Regions from separate parts of the Homo sapiens genome. Here region 2 is linked to region 1. The links are contacts of gene promoters, found by promoter capture Hi-C in human tissues and cell types (Jung and others, 2019). All regions are on one chromosome and are shown on one strand. Each heading gives the region's core, a stretch centred on a gene start or on the middle of the fragment in contact. The rest is flanking DNA. Distances are from core to core; before and after follow the strand shown.

Region 1 (7,801 bases), core at 2,714-5,213:
AATCCAGGGCACTCATATGTGAAGGATAAGAACCTCACTTCCTTACTCCTCCAAAAAGAAGTGGGGAAAGAACCATCAAACCTTTCCTCCTGACTTACCAAACCAGGAAAACAGCAGGAGAGGGTGGCTCAGGACTTAGGGACAGGGTATAGCTTAGATGGTGGAAAGCAAAGGAGAGCAGGAAGTTGTAAATCACTGGCTAATGAGAAAAGGAGACAGCTAACTCTAGGATGAAGCTGTGACTAGGCTGGAGTTGCTTCCTTGAAGATGGGACTCCTTGGGTATCAAGACCTATGCCACATCACACTGGGGCTAGGGAAGTAGGTGATGCCAGCCCTCAAGTCTGTCTTCAGCCAGGGACTTGAGAAGTTATATTGGGCAGTGGCTCCAATCTGTGGACCAGTATTTCAGCTTTCCCTGAAGATCAGGCAGGGTGCCATTCATTGTCTTTCTCTCCTAGCCCCCTCAGGAAAGAAGGACTATATTTGTACTGTACCCTAGGGGTTCTGGAAGGGAAAACATGGAATCAGGATTCTATAGACTGATAGGCCCTATCCACAAGGGCCATGACTGGGAAAAGGTATGGGAGCAGAAGGAGAATTGGGATTTTAGGGTGCAGCTACGCTCACCCTAAACTTTTGGTGGCCTGGGGCATGTCTTGAGGCCCAGACTGTTAACCAGGCTCTGCTGGCCTGTTTACTCGTCACCACCTCTGCACCTGCTGTCTTGAGACTCCATCCAGCCCCAGGCACGCCACCTGCTCCTGAGCCTCCACTATCTCCCTGTGACGGGTGAACTTCGTGTACTGTGTCTCGGGTCCATATATGAATTGTGAGCAGGGTTCATCTATTTTAAACACAGATGTTTACAAAATAAAGATTATTTCAAACCACCGGTGTGGCTGCCTGGATGAGTCCTTGGGGGTAGGTCTCACTCAGACCCTGGCAGTGATGTGGGAGGGAGAGAGGCAGTGCTGGTAGAAGCAGCTCCAGAAGCAAAGGCAACAGCAGTAGAGTGACCACGGAAGCGGCAAACATTGTCTTCCCTTCTCTACCTTCCCTAGTGCCACCTGCAGGGAGGCCCAAAGCAAAGCCCCGTTGCCCTGCATTGGGCTGGCACTGCAGAAATAAGATGAAACACAGTTATCGAGAGGATGCTGAACATCTATGAGCAGGTTTTAAAGCCAAGATGAGTCTCATCTGTTTGTGTGGGTCAGGAACGGGTCTTCCTGAAGGCATGAGGTGGGACTGGATAATCTTTCAGATTTGTGATTGGATACCTCGGGGGAGCAGAGGCAGACTGGGATCTCAGGACTGCAGGTATTTCATACTTTGGGATATGGAATTGATGGAGGTGGAGAATATTGGGGATAAGGACTGAATGAAGAAAGGAGTAGGACAACGCAGGACAACAGTAGTCTTAAGATTTTCACTACACTTTACCCGGCACTAGTGATAGATAAACTCTTCTGACCCTAACCATCACCGTGTGAGATGGGGAGGGTGGTTATCTACCCAGGTCCCACAGGCAAGGAAACAGATGATCAGAGAACTTAAAGATTTGGCCGGGTGCAGTGGCTCATGCCTGTAATCCCAACTCTGGGAGGCCGAGGCAGGAGGACTGCTTGAGCCCAAGAGTTTGGGACCAGCCTGGGCAACATAGTGAGACACTGTCTCTAGAAAAAATTAGCTGAGTGTGGTGGCTTGTGAGGCTGAGGCCAGTGGATCACTTGAGCCCAGAAGGTCAAGGCTGCAGTTGCACCATTGCACTCCTGCCTGGGTGACAGAGAAAGACCCTGTCTCAATAAAAAGAGCTTAAAGATTTGCCTAAGGGTCCGAAGTAACAGTGGCAGAATTGTGGTTGTAAACCACTGAATTGGAATCACTGGAGGGCAAAGCTTTGGCATCTCTAGAAAAATTCCTACAAACAATTCTCATTTGCAGTCAGAATTAAGAACCACCAACCCAGGCTTTCTGCCTAAGCCAGTGCTGTGTCCAGAGCAAGCACTGTCCCACAGAAAGCCATAAGAATCATACGCTGCTTAGTGTATGCTTAAAGTTGTAAGCTTTTGGAAAGCGAGGCCAGTTTGAGGTAAATTTGGAGACAGAGATATTTTAGGAGAGCCTCACCAAGTATATTCCATTAGGAAAGGTGAGAACCCTGGGAGTCTGAAGGGTCCAAGGTCACACCAGGAGAAAAGGGATGGCATGTACCTAAGGAAGAGGGAACCCCCACACTCCTCATCTTGGGAACTCCCATGGCCTTCTTGAAGAAGGCTTGCAAAAGAGCAGAGAATAAGAGGTGTCTCTGGAGGCCCAGAGAGTACTAGGGGGAAGCTCTAGGTATGCACATAAATCCGGCAAGTTACAGTTCTGCCCACTATCAGTGCCAAGTCCTTGTGACTCAGTGGCTTGGTGGGGACTCTTTCTTATTGGTTGCTTCTAGGAACTCCACCCAGCTTCAGCAGGGGACACACTTCCCTCTACACTTCCTGTCACTCCTTCTGTCCACTTAGGTAATGGAAACTTGTTTTTAGGGAGCAGCCAGCTGAGACACATGGTCCCTGTATACTTGAACAGCCATGGAAAAGCTGCAAGGCAGCTTGGCGCTCCCTGGTGATAATTACTTCATCTCATCTCAACAAATCAGATTCTCAAGACCAGCTGCTCCCCGGACTTGCTTATTCTTTGTTCCAAGGAGACAGTTCCCAATGGATGTGCCCCTGTGAAAACACCCTAGTAAACATTTGCTTTGTTATTGAAATTTCACTCTAAAATCCCAAAGCTAGGTCAAGCCCCATTGCTAGTTTTACTGATGAAGAAATCAAGGCATTTTTAAAAGAGTAACTTGTTGAGTTGGCGGGTGCTTGGGTCTTTTCGGTTTCTGTGGCTTCCAGGGGTGGGCCTCTGAGATGGCCCTTAGCAGATGTCCTGCGATGCACTGCACGCCTCTTGTTGAAAGCATCAGGGGTGACCTGCCTGCGTCTGGAACCACAGCAGCTTCAACTTCCTCCACACACTTCCTTCTGTGGGAAGGTGACCAGCACAAACCCGCTCTGAAAAGTCTTGGGGACCAAATCTCTGTCTGAGAGGAAGGTAGGTGCAGTTCATCCACTAAGTTTATCCACCTGTTCTGTGACTCCTCTTCACCATTCTCCCAGCAACGACTGAGCCTCATGACTTGGGGGCTGGGGGATGAGGTGGAGGTGGGGGATATAATATAGGAGATGGTACAGTGCAGGGGCAGAGGCTGGTGTGTTCTCCAGGACAAGTGGCACCACGCACTGAAAGACTTTTCAAGATAAACACAACTTTGTCTCTTCAGCCTGGCAAGAGCTGAGGCACTGAAAACTTCTTTTTTCCCCTAGAAAATGACACACTCTCCTCCTAAGGGTCCCTTTGATTTTGTCCTGGTGGAAAGCAACAAAGAGAAGAACGTGAACAGGAATATGTATATTTCAGTTGTCATCTGAGTCCCATGGATAGGAGGCTCAATTCTCTTCTTCATCTTTCAGATCTCCGCAGACCCTGCCCTCTCACTGTACAATTCAGAGATTGACACTCAGCAGGCATTCAATAAACGTCTGTGTCAAATGAGAACAACTTGATGGGGCAAGTAGGAGTCAATCCTGCATCCCTCCCTCCCTTTTTTTCCTCTCCATTCGACCTTTAGGGCTCTGGTTTCCTGTAAGCAGTGAATTATTTACCTCTGCTCATAGATATCAAATTGGCCCTTCCCAGGTTGCAGCAGGGTGGGGCGGGGAGGCGGCCTTGTTCAGTCTGTTAATAGGAGGAGCAACCTCCTTGTTCAAACAGCACTTACAGGTGGGGACCTGTTTTTGCTAAGTCATCCTGGGGATGCTCAAAGCTCCATTGTTAGATCCTTTCTGTCCTCCTTCCTGGCTCCTCCTTCCTCCCCACCCCTCTAATAGGCTCATAAGTGGGCTCAGGCCTCTCTGCGGGGCTCACTCTGCGCTTCACCATGGCTTTCATTGCCAAGTCCTTCTATGACCTCAGTGCCATCAGCCTGGATGGGGAGAAGGTAGATTTCAATACGTTCCGGGGCAGGGCCGTGCTGATTGAGAATGTGGCTTCGCTCTGAGGCACAACCACCCGGGACTTCACCCAGCTCAACGAGCTGCAATGCCGCTTTCCCAGGCGCCTGGTGGTCCTTGGCTTCCCTTGCAACCAATTTGGACATCAGGTGAGGGGTCCCTCCTTGTAATGCACCAAAAGTGTTGGGTTGGTGTAGCTCAGGTGGGATAAAAGGAGAGGCTGAATGACCATGTTTTGGAGTGTCTGGAATAATGGGGTATGTTTTGTTAAGCTAGGTCTTTAGGTGCATGTGACATACCAAGAGAAGGTATATATTTTTTAAGATTAAACACTGAGGCTGTGTGATTTTTATAGTTTACTGTCTTTCTACTATATTACTCCATGAGGGCTGGTTCCAGGTCTGTGTTTCTCTCCACTGTGTCCTCAGTGCCTAGGGCACAGAAAGCACTCATTAAATATTTGTTGAATAAATGAGTGGAGAAAGTAGAGGCCAGGAATCAAACAAGAATTGGACAGACTCAAGAGACCTTAGCTCTAGCTGGACTTGGTTTTGCTATTTAATGGCTCTGTGCCCTCGGAAAGGGCGCTTCATTTTTCGGTTTAGTTTCCTCATCTGTAAATTGGGGATAATACCACTTAGCTCATAGGATTATTATGATGTTTAGGGGACAGGATATACAAAAGTAACTTGAAAAATATAAAGTACTATGCAAATGCAAGCAAACTGTTATTTAGATTGAGGATGATTTTTGTTGGTTTAAATTAGCCAAGTGGAAAGAAAATAAGCAGGAAAGAGAAAGGTTTTCAAAAGGCACGTGCCTCTGGGCATTACATGCACCTATTTCTGATTAATGGGTCAAGCTGTTATAGATCTTCAGCCCACACACCTCGAGTTCTCTTTTAGGGATTCTTCTATTTCCACCTATGATTTTAACGTACAAGCAGGGAGAATGAACCCAAGCGAACCCTCTCGTTATAATCCCCTTAGTTCAATTCACAGTGGTATGAAGGTGAGGAAGACAGGAAAGCAGGAAGGCTGAAGCATCACTGGCTGTGACAAACCTGAGCCCAAACTGTTCACTGCTCTCACTGTTCTTCCCTAAGTTTTCTGTCTGGCCTTTTCTAGAGCAGGAGAGACAGAAGTAGCAAACCCTCTTTCGAGATGTCCCTCCAGCCCCAGAAGTACCTCCAGCCTCACACCATCTCTTCAGCCTAGCAAGTTGCTGGAGGGAGTCTATAACCTACCAGGAGCCAGCCAGCCATTTGTATCAAGAAATAGAAATCTGCCAGGGTACAGTGGCTCACACCTATAATCCCAGCGCTTTGGGAGGCTAAGGTAGGCAGATTGCTTGAGCTCAGGAGTTCAAGATTAGCCTGAGCAACATGGTGAAACCTTGTTTCTACAAAAAATTGCAAAAATTAGCCAGGCATGGTGGCATGTGCCTGTAGTCACAGCTACTTGGGACGCTGAAGTAGCAGGATCGCCTGAGCCTGGGAAGTCGAGGCTGCAGTGAGCTATGATTGTGCCACCGCACCCCAGCCTAGGTGACAGAGTGAGGCCCTGTCTCAGGAAAAAAAACAGAAACAAAAACAGAGAAGTCCACTAGAGATCAGCTCTGGGCTCATGATGTCATGATGGCCTGGAACTGACTGAACTAGTTAGTTCTCACAGGTCAGAAGCAGGAACTTTCTCCCAGAGGAAGGTATCTGTCTGTTAAATTGGAAAGGTAGAGGTGGAAAAGAAGGGTTCCCATAGGCCTTTTGGATTGTCATGAATGGTGATGCTGAGAGGGAATAGGACAGGGATGGCAGTGGGGAGGGAAAGGCAGGGACCAGGTTTTGAGCCAAAGCATGCGTAGCTGAGAGCAGTGAGTGGATAGGAGGTGCAGCAGTCTTTGGGTAGCAGCCTACTCAAGAAAAGAATGATAATTACATACTCACAATCTTTAGCCATCAAGCACTTATTTCCTCAACTCCCCCTCCCCCTGGCCTATTGCCAAACCCTAAATCCTGTATCCTATTTACTTCATGCCTGTTGGTTACTAAGTAGTTCCATTTAGAGTACACATTCATTGTTGCCTTGAACTTGCTCTGCTGTTATGGCACCTGAAAACTAGATGTTCTTGGATGGGGGTCTTCCTTCATCAAAGCTTCTTCCCATTTGTACTTCAGTTCTAGGACAAGGCAAGAAGAAAGCAAGAAGCTGTAAATCCCATTCCTCTGGGTCTCAATTTCACCCTCAGTTCAAGGAGCTGAGTAGGCAGAGGCAAAGGCTATACTCAACACACGTGCAATTGAAAGCAGGCGAGGCAAAACCAGGGCAGAGGAAAGGAAAGGGGTGTGTGTGTAGGTATGGATTTATGGGTAGGTGGGTCGGTAGGTTAGTTGAAGAGGAGGTTCTAAGCAGTATAACCTAAGCCTCTTTTCTCTTTCTTCTGCTTCAAACACCTTAAGAACTGCTCAGGGTAGACTGGAGACAAAAGCAACAGCTCAGAAGTGCTAAATCTTGAAGAGCAGCCAAAGCATGGGCAACAAAGTGAGACCCCATCTCTACAAAAAAAAAAAAAAATTAGCCGGGCATGGTGGCCTGTGTCTGTAGTCTCAGCTACTAAAGAGGCTGAAGCAGGAGGAATGCTTGAGCCCAGAAGTTCAAGGCTGCAGTGAGCAACACCTCGTCTGTCTTGTCTCTCTCTCTTTCACAGTGAAAAAGAATGACCCTGGGGAGGGAGTGTAGGAGGGTGAAAGAGTTTCATGTTGTGGATCTTTCTCTTCCCCCACCCACTGTCCACGCACTTTGTCTTTTTCCTCCCCTAGGAGAACTGTCAGAATGAGGAGATCCTGAACAGTCTCAAGTATGTCCGTCCTGGGGGTGGATACCAGCCCACCTTCACCCTTGTCCAAAAATGTGAGGTGAATGGGCAGAACGAGCATCCTGTCTTCGCCTACCTGAAGGACAAGCTCCCCTACCCTTATGATGACCCATTTTCCCTCATGACCGATCCCAAGCTCATCATTTGGAGCCCTGTGCGCCGCTCAGATGTGGCCTGGAACTTTGAGAAGTTCCTCATAGGGCCGGAGGGAGAGCCCTTCCGACGCTACAGCCGCACCTTCCCAACCATCAACATTGAGCCTGACATCAAGCGCCTCCTTAAAGTTGCCATATAGATGTGAACTGCTCAACACACAGATCTCCTACTCCATCCAGTCCTGAGGAGCCTTAGGATGCAGCATGCCTTCAGGAGACACTGCTGGACCTCAGCATTCCCTTGATATCAGTCCCCTTCACTGCAGAGCCTTGCCTTTCCCCTCTGCCTGTTTCCTTTTCCTCTCCCAACCCTCTGGTTGGTGATTCAACTTGGGCTCCAAGACTTGGGTAAGCTCTGGGCCTTCACAGAATGATGGCACCTTCCTAAACCCTCATGGGTGGTGTCTGAGAGGCGTGAAGGGCCTGGAGCCACTCTGCTAGAAGAGACCAATAAAGGGCAGGTGTGGAAACGGCCAGCCTGTGTGTGTGTTCTTTGACAGAGGGCGGAGGGAAGCTACAAACTGCAGGTGGGATAGAGGAGCTGCTAGCACACAAAGCTTTGGGAGGGGAGGATCTGACGGATCAAGGGATGCCCTAATTACTGACAGGAAAGCAAGCGCTGGCCAAGGTCTGCAGTGGCAGGTGCAGTTACGGGAAATGTGAATTATATTATTCCTTTACAGCTCTTCTTCAGAACTGGGGAAAAAGAGAAAGTGATAAT
Region 2 (7,801 bases), core at 3,150-5,649, 150 kb after region 1:
GTTCTGTTACTTTCATCAAGTAATGGTCCAAGAAAGAAGCTTGAGGGACCAGCCAAATTCTCTAGAGAGCAGGCAACTGCTTCGGTAACCTATAATCACCAAGGAGGCACCCTCTGTCCTTCATTCTCCTTGCTAGTTCAAGTTATGGCTGAGACAATTTAGGTTTCCAGATTCTTGTTTTAAATAAGAGACCTCACTGCATCTTTCAAGAATGACCTTGAAATTTTTTTAATTAATTTAAAAATAATTTTATGTTGTACATTTCTATTAAGAACTAACCCCACTTTTTATCTTCCTTAACCCTGAAGTTCAGTGGGAAATAATTATAAAGAATCTGTCCACCCTCTGAGCAACTGGGACCCCCCTGCATCCAACCCCAAAGCCCCAGTGACATGGCAGCTTCAGGGTTGTGTAGTTCCAACCTAGCAGCTTATCTGAAGCGTGCCCATAAATGAAGCCCATCCCCCACTTTGTCCTCCTTCCCCCTATTTCTTCCAGGGTACCAGCCTTGTGACCCCCAGGTCATCCAGGACCGCATCAGCCACTTGGAGCAGTGCTTTGAGGAGCTGAGCAACATGGCAGCTGGGCGGAAGGCCCAACTGGAGCAGTCCAAACGACTCTGGAAGTTCTTCTGGGAGATGGATGAGGCTGAGAGCTGGATCAAGGAGAAGGAGCAGATCTATTCTTCCCTGGACTATGGCAAAGACCTGACCAGTGTGCTCATCTTACAGCGCAAGCACAAGGCCTTTGAGGATGAGCTCCGTGGGCTGGATGCTCACCTGGAGCAGATCTTCCAGGAGGCTCATGGCATGGTTGCGCGCAAGCAGTTTGGGCACCCGCAGATCGAGGCCCGCATAAAGGAGGTGTCGGCACAGTGGGACCAGCTGAAGGACCTGGCTGCCTTCTGCAAGAAGAACCTCCAGGATGCTGAGAACTTTTTCCAGTTCCAGGGCGATGCGGATGACCTGAAGGCTTGGCTGCAAGACGCCCACCGGCTGCTCTCTGGTGAAGATGTGGGGCAGGACGAAGGGGCCACGCGGGCCCTGGGGAAAAAGCACAAGGACTTCCTGGAGGAGCTGGAGGAGAGCCGTGGGGTGATGGAGCACCTGGAGCAGCAGGCCCAGGGATTCCCCGAAGAGTTTCGGGATTCCCCAGATGTGACCCATCGGCTGCAGGCCCTGCGGGAGCTCTACCAACAGGTGGTGGCCCAGGCGGACCTGCGTCAGCAGAGGCTGCAGGAAGCCCTGGACCTGTACACGGTGTTCGGGGAGACAGACGCCTGTGAGCTGTGGATGGGAGAGAAGGAGAAGTGGCTGGCCGAGATGGAAATGCCAGACACCCTGGAGGACCTGGAGGTCGTGCAGCACAGGTCAGAGTTAACTCATCTTTTCCTCACGTCCCTGTACCCAGGCCTGGGCACCATCTCCCACCTAGTTTGGTAATAGTCTCTGGATCAGCAAAGGTCTCTTTGAGAGGCCCTGGGATGTCCTTTGTTGCAAAGTCCTGGCATTAGGAGTCATAAGTTCTATTCTGGCTCTGTGGCCTGGGGTACTTCACCCTTTGGGGCCTTGTGTTCCTCAAACAAAGGGAATTTATCTAGTCCAGTTATTCAATTACTTTTCAGCAATAGCAGTCTTTGCTCAGATGAATTGTGTATGGAACCCCCAGGTCACACAGAGGAAAAATGGAGCTACTCTGGAGAAGGAGGTTGAGAGGCCAGGACCCTGCCAGCTCTAGCTTTCTGTGGCAGTCCTTAAGCCAGGAGACTCTGAGGGGCCACAGAGAGAATTTGCAAACCCCCTGTCTGCAAGGCCACTCTCACCCCTGGTGTTCTGATTTTGTCAGCACCCCAGATGATGAGGCATGCCCCAGTCTGTGCAGCATCTCAGCAGCTGAAGCACAGAATTCAGGCAGTCAGGAGAAGGAGAGGCCGCTCTCTGGAACAGTGCCAAGGTGGTGCTGCACTGATGCTGGAGAGTCCTGGGCTCTTACCCTAGAAGGATCGGCCTTCAGAACCACAAATTCCCCCCGACCACCGCCCCAGCAGCTTTTCCTTATCTTACCCAGGAATGGAGCACCTGGCTGGAAAGGGTATCTTTTGGGTTAAGATGTCAAGGCATTGGACTCAGAGTCCAAAAGCAACAGCCGGAAAAGCAGAGGCCTGGAAGGTGGCCCTTGTGACAATTGACATCCCCCACACAAATACACAGTAACCTCTCTTCAGCCCTCCCTCCCCTTCATATGTCTCTCTTGAGCCAGAAGCCCGTGTAGGAAGTAACTGGCTCTCTCCCGGCCTGTTCCAGGCAATGCTAACTCATGAAATCAAACCCATGAACCAGAAAGGAGGGCCAGCATATCTGTTTTCTTCCTCCTGCCTCACCTGGGCAAATGGTTTAGGCAGTGGAAGGAGAAAGCAAGAGCTACATGTTCTGGAGACTGGGGGTGCCACTGGCAAGGAAATGTCTGCTGCCGCCTCACCCATCCTCATATTTTCCTTTGCCCATATCAGGTTCGACATCCTGGACCAGGAGATGAAGACCTTGATGACTCAGATTGATGGTGTGAACCTCGCTGCCAACAGCTTGGTAGAGAGTGGCCACCCACGCAGCAGGGAGGTGAAGCAGTACCAGGACCATCTGAACACCAGGTGGGGTGTGGGTAGGGCATGGGGCGGGGGCATTGTCTCTCAACATCTGACACACTGCTGGGGGCCGGGCCCAAAATTTAGTCCACCTAGTATGCACCAACACTTCTATACCCTCAACATTCCTGTCTTTTTTTTTTTTTTTTTTTTTTTTTTGACACAGAACCTCACTCTTTTACCCAGGCTGGAGTGCAGTGGTGCGATCTCGGCTCACTGCAACTTCCACCTCCTGGGTTCAAGCTATTCTTGTTCCTCAGCCTCCCAAGTAGCTGGGATTACAGGCGTGCGATACAATGCCTGGCTAGTTTTTGTATTTTTAGTAGAGATGTGGTTTCACCACGTTGGCCAGGCTGGTCTCATTCCTGGCCTCAAGCGATCTGCCCACCTCGGCCTCCCAAAGTGCTGGGATTACAGGCATAAGCCACCGCGCCCCCACCGACATTCCTGTCTGTCTCAGCCACAGTCCCCTTCCCAGTAGTACTGGAACTATAGCAGCAAGGAGGAATGATTGAGGTGGTGAACAGCCCAGGGAGGGAGAGAGACGAGTCCTGGGAGGCTCGAATGCTGTGCCTGGGGAGGGTGGGTGTGTATGTGTGATGGAGGGCACATCCCAAGTGTGCCCAAACTTAGAATCAGGCCATATGCTTCTCATGCTATATTTCCCTGGACATTCTTGGGCAGAGAAAATTGCTTTCTGAGAGCTCTTAAGTACTGTCCATAAAATAATGCTCCTGCCTCTGCCAAATGCAGTATCGATAATGAGGCTGGCTTGAAGGAAGAGGAGAATTAGCAGGGAGCCTTAAGCAAGCTTTGTGGCCAGAACAAAAAATAGGCCCCAAGGAGCCTTTAGAGAGGGGGTGCTTTCAGTGTGGGGTGAAATTGCCCATGAGTTCCTGGAGGATCTTTGAGGACACCGCAAATGCCTGCATTCCCTGTCTTTACCGTGGGCCCTGCACATGCAATGCCACATGTTCACCACCTCCCCATTACCCCAGCCCCTTCCCCACACCTGTGCCTGAGCGTTGCTCTGCCTGAGGCAATCTGGGAGGTGGGCCTAGGGAAGACTCCATTGTAAAGAAAGGGATCGGCACAGTGGAGAGTTCACTGGGGGGCTAAGGGGAGGCAGCGATGACCAGAATTCTTTAGAGCCACTAGAATGGGATGATTGTCTTAGCAGCCCAAGCTGCAGAGTGCGGTTTAGGAGATTCCTTTGTCAATCTGATGTTTTACAAAGGAAGAGAATACCTCTTCCCTCTTCTTTCGCCTTGTAGGTAATGAGTTTGTGTGTGTTGGTGGGCAGGAGGTGGTAGAGATTATTGCAATTGCTGCATAATTGAGGAAACTAGAGCAGGTCTAAACCAGAGAAACTTCCTGAGAGGAAGAACTCATCAGCTCAACAATAAACTATAGTCTGAGAATGTTGATCTTTACAGACCCCTAAAACAGGCCCCATCCCCAAGAGAAAAATATCAAGGTACCTGCCATCCTTAAGTGAGAAAAAAACCCGAGGCATGAAATTAAATTTGAGAGTTGAAAGGAACCTGAGAAGTCACCCAGTCTAGCCAGTGATGGGGAACTCACTCCCTCACCCGGCAGCCTATCTCATTTTTGGGCAATTCTTTTTGGTTAAAAAGTTTGCTCTTCCATTGAGTGGAAATCTGCCTCCTTGAAATGCGTACATATTGATTCTGGCTCTGCCCTTGAGAGATATCACACTTACCCTGGTTCCTCTTCCGTGTATAGCTCTTCAATTATTTTTCAGAACAATGCTCATTCTATACCTCCACCCCCAGTGTCGCCTCATGCCTCTGCGGTTCTTTCCCTCAGGGTGCATTCTCCCTCCCTCTACATATTCCAAATCCTGTCTCTGCATGAGCCAGTCCAAGTCGCTTGCTTTCCAGTTTTCCAGATGAAAAGCAATCTTTTCCTCCTTTGTACTGGTTTTGAGCTTCATATCCTATCTTACATTCTAATTATTTTTGTCCCCAAGGACTTTCCTGCTAGACTATGTAAACAAATGAAGACCTGTATCTATTTATATTGCCCAAGGGCTTTGCACACCTAATACATTTTTGGGGTTCCTGCTGTTTAGAGTATTATTTTCCTAGCTATGCCCTTGGCTTACTCTTTTTATTCAGGTCTCAGCTCAAATGTCAGCTTACTGGCATGGCCCCCGCTGACCGCCCCATGGAAAGCAGCACATCCTTCCTCTCACTGACCCACTTGGCCTCTATATTGTTACCTTCTTTTATTTTTTCTTTGCGCTTATCACCACTTGATGGATTATAGACTTGTTTATGTCTCTATCCACTTGAATGAAAGCAAGGACTTTGCATTACTCTTTATTAATTAATTAATTAATTTTTTATAGAGACAGAATCTCACTCCATTACCCAGGCTGGAGTGCAGTGGTACAATTTTGGCTCACTGCAGCCTCAGCCTCCCAGGCTCAAGTGATTCTCCCATCTCAGTCTCCTGTGTAGCTAATGCTACAGATGCACACTACTATACCCAGCTAATTTTTTGTTTTTTTTGTAGAGATGAGGTCTCACTATGTTTCTCAGGCTGGTCTTGAACTCCTGGGCTCAAGAGATCCTCCGGCCTCAGCCTCCCAAATTGCTGTGATTTACAGGTGTGAGCCACTGAGCCCAGCCTGCATAGTTCTTTGTCATATCCCTAGTGCCTAGGTCAGTGTCTGCCACAAGGCAACTGAGAGTTGCTTGATAAATGCTTAGTACATGAGTGAACTGGGAAAAAACTAAGGTTTTTCTGCCAAGCTTATGTGTGAGTCATTCAAACACTTGATGAATGTGTGATCATCTTTCACCGTATGCTTTCCAGTTGAAGAAAAACCTGGCCCAGGACCAAACCTAGACTCTTGATGTTGCCTGACCAGTGATAACTAGAGTGGCTCTATCAACCTCCTCCATCTCAAAGACAGTGCAGTGGAGGGGGCAAGTGTAGGTTTGGGAAGCAGACTAGACCCAAGCTCCAGTGCATCTTGGTGTGGCCTCCACCCAATGGCTACAGTGAGGCCACTCCAGGAAAGGCCTGGAAAATCACTATGGGGCCTCTTGCCTGGGGACACAGCCAGACCCTCTCCCAGGAACACTTCCCTGTCGATTCCAGGGCTTTCAAACAAACTTGGAGAAAACCCCTTGATTTCCTAGCCTCAGAGCACCATCTGTGTGCCAGACAGGCACGGAATTCCCAGAGCACGGGGTCTTCATGGTCTAGGATGGGAGCCGAGAAATCTGCAGGCTCTCTCTCCTCTCTCGTATCCCTGGTCTCTCCCAGCCTGTCTCTTATATCTCTCTGCAGACCTTTCAAATCATACTGGCTGCTGTTGTCACACCTTGGGAATGCACAACAGCGCTCTCTGTCCAGTCCATCTCCTAGTCCCTCAGCCTCCATCCCCTGAGGCAGGGTACAAAGATGAATGAGACACTTGGTCCCATCCTTTAATTGGTCACTCCAGTGGAGGCACTGGGGGTGTGTTCACTGACTGGGGCTTTGTGTCCAGTGATGGGTTGTGTGGAGGTCACGTGAGCAACTGTCACCCCATTGCTCCTTCCAGCTGCCTTAATCCTCCTCTCTGCCTGTTAGGTGCTGTGCACATGAAACTTTATGCTATGTTATTTGTGAGCTTGTCTGAATATTTCTCTAAATCATACACCCCACAGGGCATGGTCTGGTTATGTCTATATTCTCCCAAAGGCCAATAAAATGGCTTATACCCCTGTGGGTGTTCGAGAAAGATGGGTTCGATTAGAGAATGAGCATTCAGCCTGCATATTACAGTGATGCAGAATGAGTGAACCTAGGCCCAAGGGCAGTGTCCCTAGTGGTCTGGCCTGGCTGATGGGCAGCTCTTTGAAAGAGGCTTATCGTGTACTGCAGACTGACCCCAGGCCCCCAGGCATCCGCCAGACCTTAGCACATTTCCGTATTTCATAGCAACACTGCACTCGAAGGTTAAGATTATGCTAGTCACTTAAATTATCATCACAACTTATTCCTCCCCATTCTCTTCTTCCCTGTCCTCTTCTTCCTCTTCTTTTTCACCAGGGCATCTTTTCTCTTAGATCCAAGGTGATCTCTTTCAGGCCCTAGGAGACGTTGCATGTGGCCTTGGGCATTTACTTGGTTCCTCTAGGGCAGCTGGGGACCCTATGTCCTGAAGCATTCTTGAAGTTAATGTGAGCCTTTTAATTATTTTGATATTTCATAAACTCTGGGGAAATTGTATATTTGCCTGAACTCCAACTACATGCATAGACTTTGCTTTCATGTTCCTTTACTTATGGTTGGAGTCACATAATTAATTGCCCCCTGCTGATCAAAAGATCTGATTGACAGTTATATATGTCTTGAGTAAAATTGGAGAAGTGAATTTTGCTCACCTACACTTCGTTAGGTAGATTTTTTTTTTTCTTTTTATCATACAAAGTCTGTGGGGGGAGACTTGTGGGAAATGTGGGAAGGGGTCAGGGTCTCCTATGGGAAGAAGAGCTAAGGGAGAAGGTGTCTCTCTCCTCCGGGCTGTGTCCCCATCCGGCAGGTGGCAGGCATTTCAGACCCTGGTGTCGGAGCGGCGGGAGGCTGTGGACTCAGCCCTCCGAGTGCACAACTACTGCGTAGATTGCGAGGAGACCAGCAAGTGGATCACGGACAAGACAAAGGTAGTGGAGTCCACAAAAGACCTGGGGCGGGACCTGGCAGGTATCATCGCCATCCAGAGGAAGTTGTCAGGGCTGGAGCGTGACGTGGCCGCCATCCAGGCCCGTGTGGATGCCCTGGAGCGTGAGTCCCAGCAGCTGATGGACTCGCACCCTGAGCAGAAGGAGGATATTGGTCAGCGGCAAAAACACTTGGAGGAGCTGTGGCAGGGCCTGCAGCAATCCCTGCAGGGCCAGGAGGACTTGCTGGGGGAAGTCAGCCAGCTGCAGGCCTTCCTGCAGGATCTGGATGACTTCCAGGCCTGGCTCTCCATCACCCAGAAGGCTGTGGCCTCTGAGGACATGCCCGAATCCCTCCCAGAGGCTGAGCAGCTCCTGCAGCAGCATGCAGGTATCAAGGATGAGATTGACGGGCACCAAGACAGCTACCAGCGTGTTAAGGAGTCTGGGGAGAAAGTGATCCAAGGCCAGACGGACC

Evidence for each region. Contacts are between HindIII fragments. The study calls those that stand out against the background at their distance.
Region 2: a contact is called between a fragment that was not itself captured here and the fragment with the promoter of GPX2 in region 1, in 2 of the 25 tissues and cell types used here (mesenchymal stem cells and pancreas).

The regions. Positions count from the first base shown.
Region 1 is chr14:64,938,907-64,946,707 of GRCh38, reverse strand. It overlaps GPX2 (glutathione peroxidase 2), which reads left to right and starts at 3,963. Exons shown (of 2, transcript NM_002083.4): 1 at 3,963-4,203; 2 at 6,870-7,550. The coding sequence starts at 3,982. The coding sequence ends at 7,220. All of the region lies in intron 3 of CHURC1-FNTB (CHURC1-FNTB readthrough), which reads right to left. RAB15 (RAB15, member RAS oncogene family) reads left to right here. Exons shown (of 7, transcript NM_001308154.2): 7 at 1-892. The HindIII fragment of the contact is 8,107 bases long and covers 1-6,921 here.
Region 2 is chr14:64,786,565-64,794,365 of GRCh38, reverse strand. SPTB (spectrin beta, erythrocytic) reads left to right here. Exons shown (of 36, transcript NM_001355436.2): 14 at 499-1,369; 15 at 2,510-2,647; 16 at 7,206-7,801. Among named protein-coding and RNA genes, the nearest start is that of MIR7855, 4.8 kb to the right of the region's middle. The HindIII fragment of the contact is 5,305 bases long and covers 1,747-7,051 here.